Regions from separate parts of the Homo sapiens genome. Here region 1 is linked to region 2. Evidence: promoter capture Hi-C in 16 types of primary human blood cells and fetal thymus (Javierre and others, 2016). All regions are on one chromosome and are shown on one strand. Each heading gives the region's core, a stretch centred on a gene start or on the middle of the fragment in contact. The rest is flanking DNA. Distances are from core to core; before and after follow the strand shown. Region 1 overlaps TOB1 (transducer of ERBB2, 1). Region 2 holds the start of SPAG9 (sperm associated antigen 9).

What was found. The method cuts DNA at HindIII sites, captures the fragments that hold promoters and counts their contacts. A CHiCAGO score of 5 or more calls a contact.
Region 1: a contact is called between a fragment that was not itself captured here and the fragment with the promoter of SPAG9 in region 2, in 14 of 17 cell types (neutrophils, fetal thymus, naive B cells and 11 more). The highest score is 15.3, in neutrophils.

What each region holds. Positions count from the first base shown.
Region 1 is chr17:50,858,700-50,865,198 of GRCh38, reverse strand. TOB1 (transducer of ERBB2, 1) reads left to right here. Exons shown (of 2, transcript NM_005749.4): 2 at 1,036-2,976. The coding sequence starts at 1,182. The coding sequence ends at 2,219. Among named protein-coding and RNA genes, the nearest start is that of TOB1, 4.4 kb to the left of the region's middle. RefSeq lists an enhancer at 180-229. The HindIII fragment of the contact is 4,656 bases long and covers 2,332-6,499 here.
Region 2 is chr17:51,118,419-51,124,368 of GRCh38, reverse strand. SPAG9 (sperm associated antigen 9) reads left to right here and starts at 3,501. Exons shown (of 30, transcript NM_001130528.3): 1 at 3,501-4,015. The coding sequence starts at 3,713. RefSeq lists enhancers at 2,150-2,409, 3,019-3,248, 2,765-3,579, 3,869-3,988 and silencers at 3,389-3,768, 4,019-4,098, 4,119-4,248. The HindIII fragment of the contact is 3,961 bases long and covers 1,272-5,232 here.

The DNA.
Region 1 (6,499 bases), core at 3,410-5,909, 260 kb after region 2:
ACAGACGAATTAAGACCAACTTGATTTTTAAACGTACTTTTAAATCAACTTCAGTGTGCAAATAGATCCCTTTCGCAAATATCTTCTGTTTGCCCTTGATCTTTTCTTATCCCCACCCAGTGCTGATCCAGCAAACGTTTAAAGGTCGACCTTACCATACTTGCCTCTCCGGCTGTTACCGTGAGAGGGAGGGAGGGAGAGAGGGACAGACGGAGGTTTTTTAAAATCAGACTAAAACTCAGAAACCCTGGCCTTAAACAGAATAATCAATAGTTTTAATTTGTGTCTTTGCTTTTGTTATACTTGCTGCCGAATAGGTATTTTCAGATTTAGAAAAATACACATTGAAAACAAAAGGCCCAGAGAAGCTGGATTTTATTATATTGTATGCTCTTAGTATACTTAAGGCCGAAACTATATAGAATAATTTGGTTCATAATTATTTACTAGGATGAAGTTCATTTAGTACTCAGTGTCTTTAATTTTAGCATCATGTACTATGGAAATTAAAATGATCTTCCTAACGTAACCAAATTTTTAAATGTCAGTGACAGAGCAGATTTAAACAGTATATATCCAAAGTAAACTAAAACATGGATTCACTTCTAAGTTGGTGAATAACAATAAAAATTACTACCTAAAAGTGGCATCTATATATATGGGGGTGGGGGGAGGATGCTGAGTACAATAAATATTCTTGTGAGAACTGAGGAGAGAAGAATGCATGTTCTAGAGATTTTTCTTCTTAGAACTCTATTCAGAAACAGGTTTTTAAAAGCATTATTTCATTTGTAAATCTACATTTTCCTGTGTCATTTTAAACTTTAATAAACGATTTTCTATTTTATGTTTATTTTGTGCTAGTAACAGTTTTCAGGCTTTCTGTCCTAGTAGACATTTTCTTTTTCTTTTTATCCTTAGCAGACTAACACAGGATCTTAGACATTTTGAAAGGTGAAATTACTTTGGAGGGGGGAAGGTCATGGGACTTATATTACATTTATCTTATTTGGATATGTTTGCTTTTGTTTTAAGGAACAAGATCACTCAAGGTGAAGGATAATCTACTAATACCAGCACTTTGAATGAAAATTTGTTTCTCTGCCACAAACTGAACATCTTTTTTTTTTTTTTTTTTTTTTGGTGGGGGAGTTGAAACCTAATTTTGTGGCGTAGCAGCTATGCAGCTTGAAATCCAAGTAGCACTAAATTTTATTATTTCGTATTTGTACAATAAGCTTCCCAGGAGACGTGTCAACATTTTTGGTGAAGAACTTGAAAGACTTCTTAAGAAGAAATATGAAGGGCACTGGTATCCTGAAAAGCCATACAAAGGATCGGGGTTTAGATGTATACACATAGGGGAGAAAGTGGACCCAGTGATTGAACAAGCATCCAAAGAGAGTGGTTTGGACATTGATGATGTTCGTGGCAATCTGCCACAGGATCTTAGTGTTTGGATCGACCCATTTGAGGTTTCTTACCAAATTGGTGAAAAGGGACCAGTGAAGGTGCTTTACGTGGATGATAATAATGAAAATGGATGTGAGTTGGATAAGGAGATCAAAAACAGCTTTAACCCAGAGGCCCAGGTTTTTATGCCCATAAGTGACCCAGCCTCATCAGTGTCCAGCTCTCCATCGCCTCCTTTTGGTCACTCTGCTGCTGTAAGCCCTACCTTCATGCCCCGGTCCACTCAGCCTTTAACCTTTACCACTGCCACTTTTGCTGCCACCAAGTTCGGCTCTACCAAAATGAAGAATAGTGGCCGTAGCAACAAGGTTGCACGTACTTCTCCCATCAACCTCGGCTTGAATGTGAATGACCTCTTGAAGCAGAAAGCCATCTCTTCCTCAATGCACTCTCTGTATGGGCTTGGCTTGGGTAGCCAGCAGCAGCCACAGCAACAGCAGCAGCCAGCCCAGCCGCCACCGCCACCACCACCACCACAGCAGCAACAACAGCAGAAAACCTCTGCTCTTTCTCCTAATGCCAAGGAATTTATTTTTCCTAATATGCAGGGTCAAGGTAGTAGTACCAATGGAATGTTCCCAGGTGACAGCCCCCTTAACCTCAGTCCTCTCCAGTACAGTAATGCCTTTGATGTGTTTGCAGCCTATGGAGGCCTCAATGAGAAATCTTTTGTAGATGGCTTGAATTTTAGCTTAAATAACATGCAGTATTCTAACCAGCAATTCCAGCCTGTTATGGCTAACTAAAAAAAAGAAAATGTATCGTACAAGTTAAAATGCACGGGCCCAAGGGGGATTTTTTTTTTCACCTCCTTGAGAATTTTTTTTTTTAAGCTTATAGTAAGGATACATTCAAGCTTGGTTAAAAAAATAATAATAAAACATGCATCATTTTTCATTTGCCAACCAAGCACAAAGTTATTTTATACTGACTGTATATTTTAAAGTATACTCTCAGATATGGCCTCTTACAGTATTTAAGATATAGCAAGGACATGGCTGATTTTTTTTTATAAAAATTGGCACTAATAAGTGGGTTTATTGGTCTTTTCTAATTGTATAATTTAATTTAGTACAAAGTTTGTAAAATATCAGAGGATATATATATATTGTTTCTACGACATGGTATTGCATTTATATCTTTTTACTACAGTGATCTGTGACAGCAGCAGCTTCATGTTGTATTTTTTTTACTGAAATTGTAAAATATCCATCTTAAAGACATCAACTATTCTAAAAATTGTGTACAGGATATTCCTTTAGTGGTGGAATTAAAATGTACGAATACTTGCTTTTTCAAAAAAATGTATTTTCTGTTAAAAGTTTAAAGATTTTTGCTATATATTATGGAAGAAAAATGTAATCGTAAATATTAATTTTGTACCTATATTGTGCAATACTTGAAAAAAACGGTATAAAAGTATTTTGAGTCAGTGTCTTACATGTTAAGAGGGACTGAAATAGTTTATATTAAGTTTGTATTAAAATTCTTTAAAATTAAAAATGCCTATTGTCTTTGTTTTTAAGTGTTTTCTGAAGATCGACCTCTGGAGTTATTATGTTGTAAATGCTAATGATGGAAAAAGGCCTGACTCATTGAGTCACGAAGGAATAATGGAAAGCAGTTGCTCTACTGATGTACCAGATCGTGGTTTGCCACATAAAAAATGCTATCAAAACTATAGCCTGACCAGTGCTTGGTACAACTTTATTTTTTAACAGCCCTCTTCAGTCCACATTTGTCTACCCCATTATAGAGATGGTATGGTAAGGTTAGCTATACAGCAAGTTTCAAAATGTCATGCTGACATGGAGGAGTCAGGTGATAAGATGAAATTCCTTCGTGTAATCTGAGATGATTTATTTGAAATTTATATGGAGAGAGCATTGGATCAGTTTTCTGTTTTTGCTGAGGAAACTTGCTTGGACAAAACGGCTGACTGAACTTAGAAAAATTTACATCACTTTACTAATCTTTAAAGTTTAGCTATTGCATATAGCTAGAGAACTTATGGTCAAAATCTATTCACGGCTGGACAGATGGTTAGATGTTAGCATTTTCATTTTCCCAGCAAAAACGCTTATGTATTTAATTTTTTGCAAGTGGGTACCCAACCTGCTGGTTTGAAGGATTTAGAGATATTGACAATGTATCAAATTGGAGTGGCTTGGTGAGGATGGAGTTTTTTAAAACTGAAGAGTTGGGGAGAAGAACACTAAATGAGTCATTTCACTAAATGTCAATTGATACAGTATTGACATAGTATTGGTGAGAAAGTTAACGTCCATTTGATACAGTGTTGACATAGTATTGGTGAGAAAGCTGTCTTAAAAAACTTTATATGTACTTTTATAGTAAGAAACCAGCACTGCCTGGGTTACCAGTGAAATAAATTTGGTCTCATGAGCTTTTTGGACACCAGTCTACAAAAGCCTTTTGTCATTTACCCATGCAGTGTAGAGCAATACAAAGTTTTAAGGAAACAAGCACTGGAAATAACAGAGCTAAGCTGTTTGTCAGCTCCATGGTGAGGCTTTTGTTCTTTAGGGAACAGAACGAGGCTATGAAGAAGTATTGGAATAATGGGTGCAAGCAGCAGAGATCTGGTCTGCCAACACTTACCACTTACATGCTTTTGTGATCACGAAGTTTGAATAGCTGTAAGAACCATCAGGATAATGGCTTTAAGCACTAGTTTCTGCTACAGACTGATAAAGTTACATTTGGGAGAAAACTCTACTTATAAATGAAGGCTCAAGTGTAATGTGCTTTTTCTGAAAATCATAAGGCAGCTGGACGGAACATAATAGAATTTTTTTTTTTTTTGAGACGGAGTCTCTTGCTCTGTCACCCAGGCTGGAGTGCAGTGGCACCATCTCGGCTCACTGCAACCTTCCACCTCCCAGGTTCAAGTGATTCTCCTGCCTCAACTTCCCGAGTAGCTGAGACTACAGGCGCCCGCCACCATGTTGGCTAATTTTTGTATTTTTAGTAGAGACGGGGTTTCACCATGTTGACCAGGCTGGTCTCGAACTCCTGGCCTCAAATGAGCTGCCTGCCTTGGCTTCCCAAAGTGCTCTGATTACAGGCATGAGCCATTGCGCCTGGTCAACAATAGAATTTGAAACTGTCTGGAGCACTAATATATTCATTTTATTTTGAGACAAGGTCTCACTCTGTCACCCAGGCTGGAGTGCAAAGGGGCCATCTTGGCTTACTGCAACCTCCACTAAAGCGATTCTCCTGTCTCACTCTCCTGAATAGCTGGGATTATAGCTGCGTGCCACCGTTCCCTGCTAATTTTTGTATTTTTTGTAGAGGCAGGGTTTCGCCACGTTGCCTGGGCTGGTCTCAAACTCCTGAACTAAGGTGATCCGCCCGCATTGGCCTCCCAAAATGCTGAGATTACAGGCGTGAGCCACCACACCCAGCCAAGCACTAATATATTCAGATTTTAAATACTGAGGTTAACATAAGCCTGAATATCTGTTTCAGATCTTAAGGATATATGTATCGACAAAAATCTTAGGGAAATTTCATCTTGGTACATATGTTTGACATCGGAGAATGACTAACTCAAAATGTGATCTTGATTGGTTTTATTAAAACTTGAGCTTGGTGTCCTTGAGAACTTCATCTTTTTTTTTTTTTAGACAGAGTCTCGCTCTGTTGCCAGGCTGGAGTGCAGTGGTGAAATCTTGGCTCCCTGCAACCTCCGCCTGTCGGGTTCAAGTGATTCTCCTGCCTCAACCTCCCAAGTAGCTGGGACTACAGACGCGCGCCACCACGCCCAGCTAATTTTTATAGTTTTAGTAGAGACGAGACGGGGTTGGCCAGAATGGTCTCGATCGCCTGATCTCATGATCCTCCCGCTTTGGCCTCCCAAAATGCTGGGATTACAGGTGCGAGCCAACGCATCCAGCGAGGACTTCATAATTTTTTAAAAAATGAACAAAGGCCCTGTTTACATGCCCTTTTTGTTCATTAGGAATGGGAATTTTTTAAAAGGTGCTTTTGCCTAGCACATCTGAGAAAAGGTTACATCTTAGTTCCAAGTCATTTTCTCCCCAAGGTGCCATCACACTTTTGACTCTCTGTGGGGAGACCATTTCGGTTGACAATTTGATGAATTCGTTATTTTCACAGGCCTTTCCCATCTTTTTGACTCCTATAACTACAGATACTGTAGCAGCCTCTGAATACCCTGAGTGTCCAAAATGTTGCCTTACAGATTTCATAGCTCATGGATGAGTAAGGAATATTATACCAAAAAATGGCTTTCTAAGTTTAGTATATTCGTTTTCTGCCCTGCCTTGTCGTTTCTGAAATCAGGTACATTGTGAAATGTCCTTTTCGCCTATAATAGATGGCAAATGTAAATATAGGCCTTCTTCAAAATGCCTCCTTAAAGATAACAATATATGCTGTGATTAGTTAACTTAGCTTTTGAAGGTGAAACTAAAGGTACTCTGAGTTTAAAATATTTTTCCAGGGCAGGTGCTGTGGCTCATACCTGTAATCCCAGCACTTTGGGAGGCCGAGACAGGTGGATCACTTGAGGTCAGGAGTTTGAGACCAGCCTGGCCAACATGGCGAAACCCATCTCTACTAAAAACACAAAATTAGCCAGGTGTGATGGCATGCACCTGTAGTCCCAGCTACAGGCTGGGAGGGTGAGGCAGGAGAATCACATGAACCCGGAGGCGGAGGTTGCAGTGAGCCAAGATTGTGCCACTGCCTTCCAACCTGGGTGAGAAGAGCGAAACTCAGTCTCAAAAAAATAAAATAAAATAATGTTTTTCCAATCGGGTGTAAATTTCGTTCCCATATACATGTCTGGCATTTTAATTGAGAGACTTAATAAATCTTCAGGACTTCGATTATTTTAAAATAAGTCACTGTGACACAGAAAGAAACAAAGTATGTCTCATTGGACATACTTAAGCTAATGAAGTAAAATGCCGGTTGGTAGACCTTCCTTTATATCCTTTCGGTACACAAACAGAAAATGGCATAGGCATGCTAC
Region 2 (5,950 bases), core at 2,252-4,751:
CCACCAGCCATAACTTTTACTTCATATATTTTTTTAATAGCTTGAGATATAATTCACATACCATATGATTCACTCATTTAATGTGTAAAGTTGAATGTCTTTTAGCATATTTTCAGAGTTGTGTATTCACCATTATAATCAATTTTTAGAACATTTTCATTATCCTAAAAAGAAACCCCATACCTATTAGCAGGCACTCCCATTTCCCCTCATCTCACCCTCTCATGCCCCTGAGACCTAGCCAATCACTAAATTCACATTTCATACGAATGGAATTGTACAATATGTGGTCCTTTGTGACTGACTTCTTTCACTTAGCTTTTTCAAGATTCAGCTGTATCTCTGGGCATGGTGGCTCACGCCTGTAATCCCAGCACTTTGGGAGGCCAAGGTGGGTGGATCACCTGAGGTCAGGAGTTTGAGATCAGCCTGGCTAACGTAGTGAAACCCTGTTTCTACTAAAAATACAAAAAATTAGCCGGGTGTGGTGGCGCACACCTGTAATCCCAGCTACTCGGGAGGCTGAGGCAGGAGAATCGCTTGAACTTGGGAGGCGGAGGTTTCGGTGAGCTGAGGTTGCACCATTGCACTCCAGCTTAGGCAACAAGAGCGAAATTCCATCTCAAAAAAAAAAAAAAGATTCAGCTATGTCATGGCATGTACTTAAAATTTTTGTTTTCTTTTCTATTCTTTTTTTTTTTTTTTGGAGACGGAGTTTTGCTCTTGTTGCCCAGGCTGGAGTGCAATGGCTCGATCTTGGCTCACCACAACCTCCGCCTCCCAGGTTCAAGCGATTCTCCTGCCTCAGCCTCCTGAGTAGCTAAGAATACAGGTGCGGGCCACCACGCCCGGCTAATTTTGTATTTTTAGTAGATACAGGGTTTCTCCATATTGGTCAGGCTGATCTTGAACATCTGACCTCTGACCTCAGGTGATCCGCCCGCCTCGACCTCCCAAAGTGCTGGGAGTACAGGTGTAAGCCACCGTGCCTGGCCAAAAAAAATTTTTTTTTTTTTTTTTGTCAGGGATGAAGGTCTCACTATGTTGCCCAGGCTGGTCTCCAACTCATGGCACAAGCCATCCTCTTGCAAGTGCTGAGATTACAGGCGCGAGCCACCACGCCTACTCCCCTCCCCTCCAACGACTTTCTTTTTATTGCCAAATAATAGTCCATTGTATACCTATGTCACATTTTATCCATTCATCAGCTGATGGTTATTTAGCTGAATTTTATTTTAACTAAATGTTATCTCTGATAACTGGCAGAAGCTTAAAATCAAGACATAAGTGTGTATCTTTCTATGTTGAACGTATACCTAAAGAAGTATACTTATTAGGAATGACAATTAAAATCTCGTACTTGAAAAATCGATACTTTTTTCTTTTTTCTTTTTTTTTTTGAGATGGAGTCTCACTCTGTCGCCCAGGCTGGAGTGCAATGGTGTGATCTCTGCTCACTGCAACCTCCGCCTCCCAGGTTCAAGCTATTCTCCTGCCTCAGCCTCTTGAGTAGCTGGGATTATAGGTGTGCACCACCATGCCCGACTAATTTTTGTACTTTTTAGTAGAAATGGGGTTTCACCATATTGTTCAGGCTGGTCTTGAACTCCTGACCTTGTGATCCACCCGCCTCGGCCTCCCAAAGTGCTGGGTTACAGGCATGAGTCACCACGCCCGGCTGATACTTTTTTCTTTAAATTTTTTGATGTGTATGATAATATTGTGGAAAGAAAAAGTAAAGCCTTGCCCTATGTTTTTTGGCTCTTCTGATCCCCCAGGAAAAGAGAGGCATGCATATAGGTAGACCAGGTGAGTGACAGCCCTCAGGAAGAGAAAATAAAAGAGGAGAGATTCAGATCAAGACTTTTTCTAGTTTTCAAATATGAAAGGTTAAGAAGAGAAAGGGCATTTGCGGCTCACAGCCAACCAGCTGGTCGGCATTCCTACTACCCAAATATCTAAATGACATAAGGGTGAATGTGGGGTGAGGGTGAGAACGGGAAAAAACACAGGCCGCAAATTCAGTCCCATCTGGCACTTCATAAGACTTAGTATTTTCATCTTTGTCCTTCCAAATTTATAGGTTTACTCTTGCCCAACCTTCATATTGTTTTTATGGGTCTCCAGGTGGGTCATGCGTAGGAAACTTTAGGGGACTACTTCATACTTGGTGGGAAGTACTTAAACTTGTAAACCCCAAGCTAAGGGTAGTTATGATCCCGGTGGGTGGCCAATTCTCCCCTTAAACCTATGTTTATCCTGCCTTTCCTCCCCCTTTTCTTAAACGAGTCGGGACGGAGAGCTGAGTCACCTGAGACACAGAGAAGGGACTTTTGAGAGTGTCTTCCGTCCCATTTGCGGACGTTAGATGAGCACACCGGGATCCTTGACTCAGCCCGCTCTAGGCGTGGGCGTTGTGTCATTCCCCACACGTGACACTCTCCCAGGCGGCAGAAACCTCACTTGTCATGGGACTTATTCACTCCAGTGACTCCACCCCTTACCTCCTCTGTTCCCCAACCTCCCACTTACCCTTTCCGCCCCACTTCAAGACTTGAGGAGAGGAGGGTGGCTGGAGCCTGGAAATGTCCCCGTCCCAAGTTGGCCAGAAGTAGCAGACACACTATGTGGGAAAGTGCCACATGTAACGTTCCAGTTTCACCCTTCTCCAGAATGCTATCACCCTTCCTGTTTATTTTTTAATAACTTGAGATATAATTCACACGCCATATGATTCACTCACTTAACGTGTAAAGTTGAATGTCTTTTAGCATATTTAGAGTTGTGTATTCATCACTATAATACATTTTTTAGAACATTTTTATTATCCCAAAACGAAATCCCATACCTATTAGCAGTCACTCCCATTTCCCCTCATCTCACCCTTGCTCTTCCATAGCACAAAACAGTTCTATTCTATTCGAGACCACCTTTCCACTTGGGCAGACCCTGGTTATGGTTTTTTTTCCCTCCCTTTCTGTTTCCAGTTTTTTTCGGAGCCCGGAATTCTCAATCTGGGTAATTGGTTTGAGTCCCGGCTCAGCCCGTTTCCCGTTGTAGCTGCGTGACCTTGAGAGCAACGCCACTTTCCTGGGCCTAGTTTCTTTGTCTGTGAAACGAGGTCCAAATATCTACCTCTTTACGCCTGTTGTGGGGATGAAGTGAGTAGGTGCTTTGTGAGCTTTAAAAAGCCATAGAAATGCCAGCTAAGTTAACTCGTCACTCTTCCCGAACCCCTCCCTTTCCCCTGGGACCCGCCCCGCGAATCCCGCTGTGGATGGATACTTCTCCCCACCCGCCGACCGCAGTCTTTCCCATTGGCGCCCGCACCGTCTTCGCGGCGCCGGGTGTTGACGCCATGGCTTCCTCCGCCAGCGCCCGAAGACGCTTGGCCCCGCCCCCGGCCGCGCCTGGCCTCCCGCGGCGCCCCGCCCATCGGGCCGACGCGGCGCCGGCCCCGCCCCGCGGATGACGTGTGGCGCGCGCGGCCGGGCCGCCCCGGCAGTTGGTGCAGCGGCGGTTGGGGTGAGAGCGCCTACGCCACCCCTCCCCTCCTCCGGCCCCGGCCCCCACCCCGCCGGGCCCAGCCCCAGCCCCGGCCCGGGCTCCAGCCCTAGTACCCGTCCCAGCCCGAGTCGGGTCCGTCCCGTGCGGGCAGGTGCCGCCCCTCTGCCGGCGACGCCCCGGGCCGCCCGCCCGTCCGCTTGCCACCATGGAGCTGGAGGACGGTGTGGTGTATCAGGAGGAGCCCGGCGGCTCCGGGGCCGTGATGTCGGAGCGGGTGTCCGGCCTGGCCGGCTCCATCTACCGCGAGTTCGAGCGGCTTATCGGGCGCTATGACGAGGAGGTGGTCAAAGAGCTGATGCCGCTGGTGGTGGCTGTGCTGGAGAACCTGGACTCGGTGTTCGCGCAGGACCAGGAGCACCAGGTGGAGCTGGAGCTGCTGCGGGACGACAACGAGCAGCTCATCACCCAGTACGAGCGGGAGAAGGCGCTGCGCAAGCACGCTGAGGAGGTGAGGCCGGCGGCAGGGCGGGGGCCGCGGGATCCGTCTCCGGGGGCGGCCGGGGCGGGGTCGCGGCCCGGTCGGGGACTAGAGGCGCGACGGGCCTCCTGGAGGGCGGGCCTGAGGCCGATGCCCCCTGGGACCGATCCCGGCGGCCTCCAGGTACCCCGGGAGCCAGGCCGGCGTTGGAAGCCGAGGCCGGCTACTGAGTGTCCTGGGAAGGGAGCGAGATGGAGGAGGCAGGGCCCGGGGAGGAAGCGGCAGCCTGGCCTGAGGACACCTGGGGTTGGCCAAGGGCGGAGATTGTTGGGTGTCTGGTTGCTTCTTGTTGAGGGAAGTTTCCGACCACCGTGGGATAGTCAGATGGCGGTTCAAAGTTTTACCCTTGGGGAGGGGGACACTTCTGCCCTGGATATGTAACTTCCGCTAGTTCCAGTACCTTTCCAGGGGGTTGCCTTGCTTTGGGAAGTTAGAGATCTCCCTCTTTCGGTCAGTTTCTTCTTGACGTTTTAATCTTGTTGAGAAAGACGTCTTATTTTATGTTCTATGTGCCTTGGTTGACACTTTGTCAACTTTTAGATGTTGTGTGGCAGTACTCAATAAATATATAAACAATTTCGTTGGTATCCCAAACCAAAGCATTCCTCCGTATCAGGTTGTAACCTTGGACAGTTCCCTTCAAAAACCCTCCGTTTATTTATAAAAAGGATTGGGGGGCGGGGTTGGGAAGATGTAGGTGACAGTTGGCAACACTTTTTCCGTCTGAGTTTCCTTCTTAGACTGCTGTTTATACGTGCATTTGGCCACCTGTTAACTCTAGCACCCGAGCAGTGACCTGGGCGCCCTCACCTCGACTCTGTGAACCTTTTGGAGTTCTAGGGTGCAAGTGATAGGTCCTTGGCTTCTTGAGACTGACAAGGAGTTTAGCTTTCAGCCTGCGTTGGCGTTATTTCTGTGGACCTTATCAAAGGCAGGTGATGTGTCCTATTTTTGTTTCTCAAGCACCTAGCACACCTGCTTAAATACATGGTGATCAAAGGAGGCGAAATAACTAATTATTGAAGGAATGACATAGTATTTTTCAAAAAGACTTGAAGAGTTTTTAGGATGTGAGGTTTGTAGCTCATTTCCTGACACTGAATAGTAACACCATTAAATTTTTGTTTTATTTTGTCACGTATACCTTTGCATCTGGTTAAATAGTTCTTTTTCCTTTTTTAAAAGCTTGACTGTAGTGATGATTTTTAGTTCTGATTGTGGGATCCAATTTTCTCAAAGGAATGCTATTGAATTTGCCAAACAAAATTGCCTTTTTTTTTTTTTTTTTTTGAGACGTAGTCTCACTCTGTCGCCCAGGGTGAAGTGCAGTGGAGTGATCTTGGCTCACTGCAACCTCTGCCTGCCGGGTTCAAGCGATTCTTGTGCCTCAGCTTCCTAAGGAGCTAGGACAACACTCCCCGCTCATTTTTGTTTTTTGTAGAGACAGGATTTCTCCATGGTGCCTAGGATGGTCTTGAACTCCTGGCCTCAAGTGATCTGCCCACTTTGGCCTCGGGCTGACCATCCCAGTGCTGGGATTACAGGCATGAGCCACCGCACCCCGCCAGAATGGACTATTTCAAGAGCTTTTCCTTTCATATAGGGAAGGAAGGGATGAAAAACCAAATAATGATAGGATCACAATTTCCGCTTGTTTGTTAGCACTCTTTATAGAACAGAGGTCAAGTGCTACTTGCTGCTTCATGCTCATATAGCCCCTTGCCAGTGTGTGGATATACATGGAAGTGACTGGGAATTAACCACATGTACACACAGGTGACAAGCAAGCCTGACATGACCTTTTACCTCACGTAAAATAAATGCTCCCTCCAGCCTTAAACTCCTGTCAGTCCGTGTAAATATGGGCAAAATGCCAGGGTCACACGTGCCAAGAAAACCATCTGC